Linked DNA regions of Homo sapiens: all the other regions are linked to region 1. The links are contacts of gene promoters, found by promoter capture Hi-C in blood cells and fetal thymus (Javierre and others, 2016). All regions are on one chromosome and are shown on one strand. Each heading gives the region's core, a stretch centred on a gene start or on the middle of the fragment in contact. The rest is flanking DNA. Distances are from core to core; before and after follow the strand shown.

Evidence for each region. The method cuts DNA at HindIII sites, captures the fragments that hold promoters and counts their contacts. A CHiCAGO score of 5 or more calls a contact.
Region 2: a fragment that was not itself captured here is called in contact with the fragment with the promoter of RNASE10 in region 1 in 4 of 17 cell types (M0 macrophages, total B cells, naive B cells and 1 more); the score reaches 5.9 in M0 macrophages.
Region 3: a contact is called between a fragment that was not itself captured here and the fragment with the promoter of RNASE10 in region 1, in 1 of 17 cell types (naive B cells). The highest score is 5.4, in naive B cells.

Annotation. Positions count from the first base shown.
Region 1 is chr14:20,503,346-20,507,172 of GRCh38, reverse strand. It overlaps RNASE10 (ribonuclease A family member 10 (inactive)), which reads right to left and starts at 1,636. Exons shown (of 2, transcript NM_001386206.3): 1 at 1,154-1,636. The HindIII fragment of the contact is 24,242 bases long and covers 1-3,827 here.
Region 2 is chr14:20,395,555-20,399,544 of GRCh38, reverse strand. TEP1 (telomerase associated protein 1) reads left to right here. Exons shown (of 55, transcript NM_007110.5): 10 at 2,815-2,924; 11 at 3,596-3,686; 12 at 3,918-3,990. Among named protein-coding and RNA genes, the nearest start is that of TEP1, 16 kb to the left of the region's middle. The HindIII fragment of the contact is 1,267 bases long and covers 686-1,952 here.
Region 3 is chr14:20,380,681-20,384,772 of GRCh38, reverse strand. It overlaps TEP1 (telomerase associated protein 1), which reads left to right. Exons shown (of 55, transcript NM_007110.5): 22 at 60-173; 23 at 265-382; 24 at 541-735; 25 at 855-1,030; 26 at 1,129-1,285; 27 at 1,420-1,599; 28 at 2,058-2,150; 29 at 2,417-2,549; 30 at 2,710-2,860; 31 at 3,087-3,220; 32 at 3,372-3,460; 33 at 3,728-3,842. Among named protein-coding and RNA genes, the nearest start is that of TEP1, 31 kb to the left of the region's middle. The HindIII fragment of the contact is 2,872 bases long and covers 1,279-4,092 here.

The DNA of each region.
Region 1 (3,827 bases), core at 387-2,886:
CTTTCTATTCCACAAAACCGCCATTGTCATCATGGCCCATCCCCAATGAGCCGCTGGGCACACCTCCCAGACGGGGTCCTGGCCGGGCAGAGGGGCTCCTCACTTCCCAGTAGGGGCGGCCGGGCAGAGGCGCCCCTCACCTCCCGGACAGGGCGGCTGGCCGGGCGGGGGGCTGACCCCCACCACCTCCCTCCCGGACGGGGCGGCTGGCCGGGCGGGGGGCTGACCCCCCCTCCCCCCTCCCGGACGGGGCGGCTGGCCAGGCAGAGGGGCTCCTCACTTCCCAGTAGGGGCGGCCGGGCAGAGGCGCCCCTCACCTCCCGGACGGGGCGGCTGGCCAGGCGGGGGGCTGATCCCCCCACCTCCCTCCCGGACGGGGCGGCTGGCCGGGCGGGGGGCTGACCCCCCCCACCTCCCTCCCGGACGGGGCGGCTGGCCGGGCGGGGGGCTGACCCCCCCACCTCCCTCCCGGACGGGGCGGCTGGCCGGGCGGGGGGCTGACCCCCCACCTCCCTCCTGGACTGGGCGGCTGGCCAGGCGGGGGGCTGATCCCCCCACCTCCCTCCCGGACTGGGCGGCTGGCCGGGCAGAGGGGCTCCTCACTTCCCAGTAGGGGCGGCCGGGCAGAGGCGCCCCTCACCTCCTGGATAGGGCGGCTGGCCGGGCGGGGGGCTGACCCCCACCACCTCCCTCCCGGACGGGGCGGCTGGCCGGGCAGGGGGCTGACCCCCCCTCCCCCCTCCCGGACGGGACGGCTGGCCGGGCAGAGGGGCTCCTCACTTCCCAGTAGGGGCGGCCGGGCAGAGGCGCCCCTCACCTCCCGGACTGGGCGGCTGGCCGGGCGGGGGGCTGACCCCCCCCACCTCCCTCCCGGACGGGGCGGCTGGCCGGGCAGATGGGCTCCTCACTTCCCAGTAGGGGCGGCCGGGCAGAGGAGCCCCTCACCTCCCGGACGGGGCGGCTGGCCGGGCGGGGGGCTGACCCCCCCCCACCTCCCTCCCGGACGGGGTGGCTGCCGGGCGGAGACGCTCCTCACTTCCCAGACGGGGTGGCTGCCGGACGGAGGGGCTCCTCACTTCTCAGACGGGGCGGTTGCCAGGCAGAGGGTTTCCTCACTTCTCAGACGGGGCGGCCGGGCAGAGACGCTCCTCACCTCCCAGACAGGGTTGCGGCCCAGCAGAGGCGCTCCTCACATCCCAGACAGGGCGGCGGGGCAGAGGTGCTCCCCACATCTCAGACGATGGGCGGCCGGGCAGAGACGCTCCTCACTTCCTAGATGGGATGGCGGCGGGGAAGAGGCGCTCCTCGCTTCCTAGATGGGATGGCGGCCGGGCAGAGACGCTCCTCACTTTCCAGACTGGGCAGCCAGGCAGAGAGGCTCCTCGTATCCCAGACGATGGGCGGCCAGGCAGAGACGCTCCTCACTTCCCAGACGGGGTGGCGGCCAGGCAGAGGCTGCAATCTCGGCACTTTGGGAGGCCAAGGCAGGCGGCTGGGAGATGGAGGTTGTAGCGAGCTGAGATCACGCCACTGCACTCCAGCCTGGGCACCATTGAGCACTGAGTGAACCAGACTCCGTCTGCAATCCCGGCACCTTGGGAGGCCAAGGCTGGCGGATCACTCGCGGTTAGGAGCTGGAGACCAGCCCGGCCAACACAGTGAAACCCCGTCTCCACCAAAAAAGTACGAAAACCAGTCAGGCGTGGTGGCGCGCGCCTGCAATCGCAGGCCCTCGGCAGGCTGAGGCAGGAGAATCAGGCAGGGAGGTTGCAGTGAGCCGAGATGGCAGCAGTACCGTCCAGCTTTGGCTCGGCATCAGAGGGAGACCGTGGAAGGAGACCGTGGAGGGAGAGGGAGAGGGAGAGGGAGAGGGAGAGGGAGAGGGAGAGGGAGAGGGAGAGGGAGAGGGAGCAAACTCACTTTTTCATCCTTATGATTTGTCTATATATTCTTTTGGGGTTTCTAAACACAGACACTGTTTCATGGGTGAATCAATCAGAGTTTTACTTTTTCTTGTCTGGCACTGGAGCTCTTTCTTTGTCCTACCCTACAGCATTGGCTGAGACCTCCAGCACCATAACTTGTAGAACCGCAGATCAAGGCACTTTCAGGATTCACATTCAGTGAGGTTTGCCAGAGTTACTTCTGCTCCTCTAGCAATTGATCAGATAACGCTTTTTCATTATTCTTGTTGTATTCGCTGGATACACGCTGCTTGAGCTTTGGAGCCTCGCAGTGGTGTGTACGTGTGGCGGGGGCTGGCCTGTGAGCTCCTCTCCGCTGCTGTCCTTGCTGGGTTAGGGACTGAGGCTACGTTGGCCTCAGGAGCTGGTGAGTGCTCCCTTGTCTTTCTGGAAGAGTTTTGTGGACGTGCATTACTTTCCCTGTAAATGGTTGGTAGAATGCTGTGGTGATGCTGTCTGCGCCTGGAGTTCTTTGTGAGAGAAGGTTGTAATGACAGATTCCTTTTTTTTTTTTTTTTTTTGAGACGGAGTCTCTCTCTGTCGCCCAGGCTGGAGTGCGGTGGCGCGATCTCGGCTCACTGCAAGCTCCGCCTCCCAGGTTCACGCCATTCTCCTGCCTCAGCCTCCCAAGTAGCTGGGACTACAGGCGCCCGCCACCGCGCCCGGCTAATTTTTTGTATTTTTTAGTAGAGACGGGGTTTCACCGTGTTAGCCAGAATGGTCTCGATCTCCCGACCTCGTGACCCGCCCGCCTCGGCCTCCCAAAGTGCTCGAAAATTTATTAAAAAATTATTTATTTTAAAAAAGAGAGAGGACTTCCATGTTGTTCCTTGAGGCACCCAACACCTCTGTGACTTACGTACATGCATAAGCAGCTGCAGAGATTCTTGTGTCCTCTCGTTCCCCAAGTTCTTCCCTCCCAGGGTTTCCTTCTTCGTGAGCAGTGCCCTGGCTGCTAGTCTGAAGAAAAATGGTTATCTTCTGGTGGTCCACGTGCTCTTAAACACACACTTACTTCCTAAACCCACTCCCCGTTTCACTTCCTCCGCCTAGCACTGAACAAACACACTCAGCCAATTCTTTCTGTTCCCACAAACACTTTGAAGTGAGGCTATCTGGGCACTGAGACAGATCCAGACATCCAAGACGGGAAATCTCTCCAGCCTGGGAAACTGCAGACAGTTTTGTTTCATGGATCAATTGTTCTGCTCCTGAGTTACACCCGCTATCCTGTGGTTTATGCAGCCTGACCTTGTGCATGAATCTCAAGTTTAGTCTTTTCTTATATCTGCCACATGTACTTCCTTTAATCCTCTCCTATAATTTCTGCAGTGTCAAGATCTTTGGCCTTTATTTGGCCATCTCTCCAACATGATTATTACTTTACAAGTGTATTATGACAAGATTTAGAGTATTTGAGACAATCATGAGTTTTCACATATCTTTACCTATAACTTTATCCAGTTTTCCACTCTCTACTCCCTCTTTCCATTCCCCTAGCCAATAACCACATTCCCATAAGAATATCTGGATTTTGCAAATCTGATCATTTAGCCCTAGATAGGAGACTATCCAAAGCAGCATTATCATTATCAGTCCCTATACTCTGGGTGAATAAAACCAGGAGGGTTACAATGTTGATCCTAAGGTTCACTTCTTTAGCTGAAATTGACATTCTGAGATAATATTTTTAAAACCACTCTGGAGACTGTTAAGGCACTATAAAAATCATCTGTAGACATAAACACGATCTTTTAAGAAGATGTTTTCCTAAACTGTGGTATAAAAAAATAAAATAAAAATAAAAGAAGATGTTTTCCTTAGTCCTTCAGGCAGAATTTTTCAAATGGTGGTCTAGGAGCC
Region 2 (3,990 bases), core at 70-2,569, 110 kb after region 1:
ATAAATAAATAAAAGGAAATATAAAAAAAGATATAAGTATAAAATATAAGATAAAATGTAATTGGATATACAGAACCCTTTTTGAAGACCACAGATCTCATTAATAACTCATTAACATTTTTTTGGAATGAAATTAGTGAATTTTGCAATCTTAAGGATAAATGTCCAGTTTATTTTCTAATATCACCAGTATGATATTGGACTTAATTTCTTACCGAAAATGATCTAGAAAACCTTTTATACATAGTAACAGTGGAAAAAACTTGAGTCGACAATGGATGCAATAGTTCATTTATAGTACATATACAACCTAATTGTTCCATACAGTTTGTGAATCAGAATTATGACTGGAGGCCAGGCACCATGGCTCACGCCTGTAATCCCAGCACTTTGGGAGGCTGGGGCGGGCAAATCACTTGAGCTCAGGAGTTTGAGACCAGCCTGAGCAACATGGTGAAACCCCGTCTCTAACCAAAAATAGAAAAATTAGCTGGGCATGGTGGTTGATGTCTGTGGTCCCAGCTGCTTGGGAGGTTGAGGCAGGAGGATTGCTTGAGCCTGGAAAGTGGAGGTTGCAGCGAGCCAAGATTGTGCCACTGAGTGACAGAGACAGACTCCATCTCAAAAATAAAAAAAAAAAGAATGATGACTGGAGAATCCCAAGACTTCCAGAGGGCTGAAAGCTTCCAGCTATAATTCAAATAAGACTTACATCCCCTTTACAAAGGGAGCAGCATTTACCTGATGAAGCTGCTGATGGTGTGGGCTGGTGCACAAGGCATGGTGACGGACTGACCGGCCTGGCCTCTAAAGTGGTTTGAATGCACCTCTGTCCAGGAAAAGAAAATCACACCTCCTATTTATGTTTACTTTTATCTAAAAGAAAAGAATTTTCCCAGTACTTACCATGCAGATTGAACCCACATAGTCACTGAATCCATATGATACAGTGTTATGTGTTACGTGTAATAGTTGAGGTTTTCTGAGCATCCACAATCTGAGGGCATTAATGTCACCCCTTCACTCTTTTTTTTTTTTAATTTTGGTTTCTATATAATTTGACTTATAGCAATTTATCTTTCAATTGTAGATGGATTTGGAATTATATTATTCAGTATTAACCAAATTAACTGTCTAAAATTGATATAAACCTTTTTTTTTTTTTTTTGGGCGGAGTCTCACTTTGATGCCCAGGCTGGAGTGCAATGGCGCGACCTCGGCTCACTTCAACCTCCGCCTCCCAGGTTCAAGTGATTCTCCTGCTTCAGCCTCCTGATTAGCTGAGATTACAGGCGACCACCACCACGCCCGGCTAATTTTTGTATTTTTAGTAGAGATGGGGTTTCACCGTGTTAGCGAGGATGGTCTTGATCTCCTGACCTCATGATCCGCCTGAGTCGGCCTTCCAAAGTGCTGGGATTACAGGCGTGAGCCACTGCACCCGGCCTAAAATTGATATAAACCTTAAAAATATTATTATTAAGAAACTATGGGCTGGGCATGGTGGCTCACGCCTGTAATCCCAGCAATTTGGGAGGCCGAGGCAGGCAGATCACTGTAGATCGGGAGTTTGAGACCAGCCTGGCCAACATGGTGAAACCCCGTCTCTACTAAAAATACAAAAATTAGCCAGGCATGGTGGTGAGCACTTGTAATCCCAGCTACTCGGAGGCTGAGGCAGGAGAATTGCTTGAATCCAGGAATCAGAGGTTGCAGTGAGCTGAGATTGCACCACCACACTCTAGCCTGGGTGACAGAGTGAGACTCCGTCTCAAAAAAAAAAGAAAAGAAACTATGGCTTGAAGATAATATTAATAACACAGGTACAAGGGAACAATAAGGAAGTGACAGAGGTCAGTGGTGAAATTCTATCTCCAGTGCAAATCTTTTTCACCTATATTTAAGCAAAAAAAGTAATGACTAATCAAATAGAAGAAATTGGGTGAGAAGCTTACAAATTATGAAGACTATTTCAAATATGGATTTACATACATTCGTCATTATAAATGGTGAACTTTTTTTTAATTTTTTTTTTGGAGACAGAGTCTTGCTTTGTCACCCAGGCTGCAGTGCAGTGGCGTGATCTCGGTTCACTGCAACCTTCGCATTTTGGTTTCAAGCGATTCTCCTGACTCAGCCTTTCGAGTGGCTGGGATTAGAGGCACCAGACACCACGCCTGGCTAATTTTTGTATTTTTGTAGAGACGGGGTTTCATAAATGGTGAACCTTCTTTTAAATGGATATTGTGCCTTGAAATATTAACTAATGAATGTGCTACATTATGTTAGTATATACTTCATAAATCAACTTACACTACGAAATTTCTCTTTTGGCCATCTAAAAAGTTTAGAAACCTTTGCTCTAGACTAGATAATACATTTTGCCAGTTGAACCCAATCTTAGGGCTAGAGCCAACAGATTAAGTGGTAACATAACAGCCATCCCATAAACAGTGTTGCATAAATTTTGTTCCAAACTTTGGGCCAACCCTGTTTTTAATCTTTCCAAGCCTTTAAAACATTTTGAGTAGGGTAGATTGTATGTGAATTCCTCACTTCCTCTATCTTGGACTTTCCACATGCCTGGTTTCTGAACTTCTTGCTCTGGTCTCTGACCTCTCTCTAATCATCCCTCATTTGCTTTTTTTTTTTGAGACAGTCTTGCTATGTTGCCCAGGCTGGACTCTAATTCCTGGGTTCTGGGCTCAAGTGATCCTTCTGTCTCAGCCTCCTTGGTAGCTGAGATTATAGGTGCATGCCACTGTGCCTGGCCTTCTCATTTGTTTTTCTCACTCTATGCCCCACATTCCACAGAAAATGGGAAGCTTCCCTTCATGGCCATGCTTCGGAACCTGTGCAACCTGCTGCGGGTTGGAATCAGTTCCCGCCACCATGAGCTCATTCTCCAGAGACTCCAGCATGCGGTATGTGTGAGGGGCTGGTAGCCATGGGGCCCAGCAACTAGATGTGCACGTGGAGAGGCCACTGCTGCTTTAGAGGCCAGGCTTTTTCAGGGGGCAGAGGCAGGTACGGCCCTCAAGCTGTTTCCATGTGGGCTGTAAGTAGATCTGGGAATACAGCTAGGTTGAGGGAGATAAGTTTTGGGGTTCAGTAAATCCTTTGAGAAGTTACAGTAGAGTATAAGAACTTTCATTTTAATTTTCTGAGCTCAGTGACTTACCAGGAAGAGACACTTGTGTGATGTAACTGATTTCAGAAGGAGTCTTTGTTTTTTATTTATAGAGATGGGGTTTTGCGATGTTGGCAAGGCTGGTCTCAAACTCTTGAGCCCAGGCAGTCCACCTGCCTAAGGCTCCCAAAGTGCTGGGATTACAGGCGTGAGCTACCACACCCTGCCCAGAGGGAGTCTTAAAAGAAACGGGGCTCCTTCTGTTACTTTCTCTTCTTTTGTTACCTTTTCTCACATCCTAAAATGATGACTTTTTTCTTTCTTCTTATTACCCCTTTTCTATATCTCTTGTCTAAGTTCATTTTGTCCTTCTGTACCTTCCCACAAAGCTAATAGAGTGGACCCCTGAAGCCCCCCATACTCCCGGCTCCTGTGCTCATGACCCCTCCCTCCTTTGCTTTCTAGAAGTCGGTGATCCACAGTCGGCAGTTTCCATTCAGATTTCTTAACGCCCATGATGCCATTGATGCCCTCGAGGCTCAACTCAGAAATCAAGGTATTCTCCCCTTTCTTCCAACTCCTCTTTGCCTCCCACATCTGACAATAAATGAAGCAGCAGCACCAATATTTTTAGCCTCTTGCTTTGCAGTCTCAGGGTGTATCGGGGTGGGGGGCAGAGGTCAGGCACTTGCCAGCCCCAAGGGTTGGGGCTCAGGTCACATTACTGGTAGGAAAAGATGAGGGAATAGAAGCTGCCTAACTCGGAAATTTACCTGTCATCATACAGCATTGCCCTTTCCTTCGAATATAACACTGATGAGGCGGATACTAACTAGAAATGAAAAGAACCGTCCCAGGCG
Region 3 (4,092 bases), core at 1,465-3,964, 120 kb after region 1:
TGGAGGGAGGCTGGCTGGGGTCTGAGTCTATTCCAACTTTTGGGGTCTTTGGTGGTCAGCTCTGTGCCAGATGCCTGGAAATCTGACTTTGTTTCTGAGTCTGAAGAGGCCGCACGTCGGATCTCAGAACTGAAGAGCTACCTAAGCAGACAGAAAGGGATCACCTGCCGCAGGTGAGCTGAGGGAGGTAGGGAGCACCTGTACAGAGATGTGGTGAGAGGAGCCGGGCCTGCTCTGACCTGGTTGTGCTTGATTTGCCCACAGATACCCCTGTGAGTGGGGGGGTGTGGCAGCTGGCCGGCCCTATGTTGGCGGGCTGGAGGAGTTTGGGCAGTTGGTTCTGCAGGATGTATGGAATATGATCCAGAAGCTCTACCTGCAGGTCAGCAGAAGCACTGGTGACCAGAGGCATGGAGAGGGACATGGGGTGGTCTGGGTTGTCCTGGGGAGGAAGTAGCTTGGCGGGGGCTCTGTGAGTTTTAGCCTGGGAGTGCTGAGGAGCATGGCACCATGGATAGTCACTGACCCATTTACCCTCAGCCTGGGGCCCTGCTGGAGCAGCCAGTGTCCATCCCAGACGATGACTTGGTCCAGGCCACCTTCCAGCAGCTGCAGAAGCCACCGAGTCCTGCCCGGCCACGCCTTCTTCAGGACACAGTGCAACGGCTGATGCTGCCCCACGGAAGGCTGAGCCTGGTGACGGGGCAGTCAGGACAGGGCAAGACAGCCTTCCTGGTACAGAGTCTCAGGGGCCTGGGCAGGAGGGAGGGAAGGCTGTGTGGGCTAAGGAGGTAAGGCACAGGGAGCTCAGGCATGTAAAATGTGACCATGTTTTCTGTTCCTGTCCCATGCAGGCATCTCTTGTGTCAGCCCTGCAGGCTCCTGATGGGGCCAAGGTGGCATCATTAGTCTTCTTCCACTTTTCTGGGGCTCGTCCTGACCAGGGTCTTGCCCTCACTCTGCTCAGACGCCTCTGTACCTATCTGCGTGGCCAACTAAAAGAGCCAGGTGCCCTCCCCAGCACCTACCGGTGGGTATCCCCCAATGAGCCCAGCCTTGTTGATGCCCACGTACCACCCCTGCTTTTTTTTTCTCTCCCACTGACCCTGACTTCCTCTCCATGTACAGAAGCCTGGTGTGGGAGCTGCAGCAGAGGCTGCTGCCCAAGTCTGCTGAGTCCCTGCATCCTGGCCAGACCCAGGTCCTGATCATCGATGGGGCTGATAGGTTAGTGGACCAGAATGGGCAGCTGATTTCAGACTGGATCCCAAAGAAGCTTCCCCGGGTGAGTGTGAGAAGGAGGTGGGTGTCGGGAGGCAGGCTGGGGAGAAGGAGGGATACGGCACGGAGGAGAGAGGCCTCTCCAATGTGGTTCTCCTTTTCTTTCTACCTTCCTGCCCCTTTGCCCAAATATCACAGTGTGTACACCTGGTGCTGAGTGTGTCTAGTGATGCAGGCCTAGGGGAGACCCTTGAGCAGAGCCAGGGTGCCCACGTGCTGGCCTTGGGGCCTCTGGAGGCCTCTGCTCGGGCCCGGCTGGTGAGAGAGGAGCTGGCCCTGTACGGGAAGCGGCTGGAGGAGTCACCATTTAACAACCAGGTTGGGTTCTAGGCCGGGGCCGGTGGGTGTGTGGGGTGAATCTGGGAGCTATGAGGACCTGGGGTGCCGAGGCCGCTAGCTGCCTTGCACAGACCTGCTCCTTTGTTTTCTCAGAAATTCTGTCCATGGGAAGTTGTTAATAAGAAAATTGTGATTCCTGATCATGTCACCCAGCCCTCTTCCCCCGGTGAATGGCCTTTCCAGGGCCTCTCGGGGTGAGGGGATGAGTCAAGTGGTTTTTGGTGGGGTAGGCCGAGCCACAGGGGTTTTCTGGCAGGGCTGGCTGGGCAGAGCAGCGTAGGAGAGGGATGGTTTGTGTCCTGGGATGATGCCATGGACCTGGCGTCTGCTGGGGACTCTCAGAGGAGGAGCTGCCTGGCAGAGGGGCTGGTGCTGGGGCAGAGGGCTGGCTGCGGGCAGCCCTCCTGGACCCCACCCTGAGTCCTGAGTCTTGCCAGATGCGACTGCTGCTGGTGAAGCGGGAATCAGGCCGGCCGCTCTACCTGCGCTTGGTCACCGATCACCTGAGGCTCTTCACGCTGTATGAGCAGGTCAGTTCTCATCACCTTCCAAGTCCTAATCACTACTTCCCATTCTCTCTTCAGCTGCTTTGTCTCATCCCTATCCCACGTCCTTTGCTGTCTTGTGATCACCCACTCCCTATCCTCGCCTCATACCTCGCCTCACTTCCCTCCTACTGTTGTTCTTTACTTTTTCATTCCTCCACACTGTCCTCCTGCTGCCCCTTCCCTATCCCACAAGCCAAGCTGCTTCTCCTCCCACTGCACTGAACAAGGCTGTCCTCCCGCCATCCTAGGTGTCTGAGAGACTCCGGACCCTGCCTGCCACTGTCCCCCTGCTGCTGCAGCACATCCTGAGCACACTGGAGAAGGAGCACGGGCCTGATGTCCTTCCCCAGGCCTTGACTGCCCTAGAAGTCACACGGAGTGGTCAGTGCTTGGGGTGGGTTGGTTGGGAGGCTGAGGGCCAGGGTTCGGATTACATTGGTTCCCTTGGGGTCTCAGCAGGCAGTTCAAGGAGAGACTGGGTGTGGTGGGGGCGGGGACACCGTATGGTTAGATGAGGGCCTCAGAGAGCTTGAGTTTTCAGGTTTGACTGTGGACCAGCTGCACGGAGTGCTGAGTGTGTGGCGGACACTACCGAAGGGGACTAAGAGCTGGGAAGAAGCAGTGGCTGCTGGTAACAGTGGAGACCCCTACCCCATGGGCCCGTTTGCCTGCCTCGTCCAGAGTCTGCGCAGGTACAGGTGCCCCAGCAGAGCTCCCGCTGACCTCTCTGTGCCTTCCCTTCTTTGAGCCGGGGCCCTCTGTATAGCTTCAACAACTGGCTCCCAGACCATGAATGAGCTACTGCTCCAGCTGCTCCAGTTTCCGCTATTTGAGGGGGGAATAGGAGCCCACTGTGTGCCAGGAAGCTCACTGACAGGCCTCTTCCTTCTTCTCTCTCCCTTCCTCACACGAGGACAGTTTGCTAGGGGAGGGCCCTCTGGAGCGCCCTGGTGCCCGGCTGTGCCTCCCTGATGGGCCCCTGAGAACAGCAGCTAAACGTTGCTATGGGAAGAGGCCAGGGCTAGAGGACACGGCACACATCCTCATTGCAGGTGATTGCAGCCCAAGTCAGCCTGGGCACTGAGTGTGGGGCTTGGGCCTGGAGGCCAGGACCACCCACTGTGCTCCCATCTGCTGGCCAGCTCACCTACTGCCCTTGGGAATGATGCAGGGCTGAGCCTTTCTCAATATCTGTTCATGCAGCTCAGCTCTGGAAGACATGTGACGCTGATGCCTCAGGCACCTTCCGAAGTTGCCCTCCTGAGGCTCTGGGAGACCTGCCTTACCACCTGGTTAGTTCCTAGACCCCATAGACACCTTTCCCAAAGTGAGTGCTTTGGTTGCTCTGAGACCCCTCTCCCCGTTACCATCTCCACCATCACCGCCGCCATTACCCCTCCCAAACTCCCTTGACCTCTTTCCTTTCAGTTTTCCTGCCCTTCTTCTTCAAGTCCTTTGTCCCAGCTCAGATCCTATCTCTGTATCCAGGTTCTGAGACTAAACTGTCCCTTCTCACCAGCCCCTTCATATCCCTAATGAATTCAATCTGACCTTCTCAGCTCCAGAGCGGGAACCGTGGACTTCTTTCGAAGTTCCTTACCAACCTCCATGTGGTGGCTGCACACTTGGAATTGGGTCTGGTCTCTCGGCTCTTGGAGGCCCATGCCCTCTATGGTGAGATGAGTCACTGGCTGGGTTCTTCTCTGAGATATGGGACTCCTGGGTGTGCTTATGGGGGCCCTGCTCAGGGTTGGGGCAGGGGTGTGGGTGTCAGGGAAAAAAGATTCAAATTTCCATTTCGAGTTGAAAATGCCAAGAGGGTGAGCACGTGACTCTCAGGAGACCTTTCACCTTGATCTCTTGGACCAGAGATTCTTCAACTTTATTTAGTTAGCATAAAACTATCTAGGAAACTTGTTCAAAT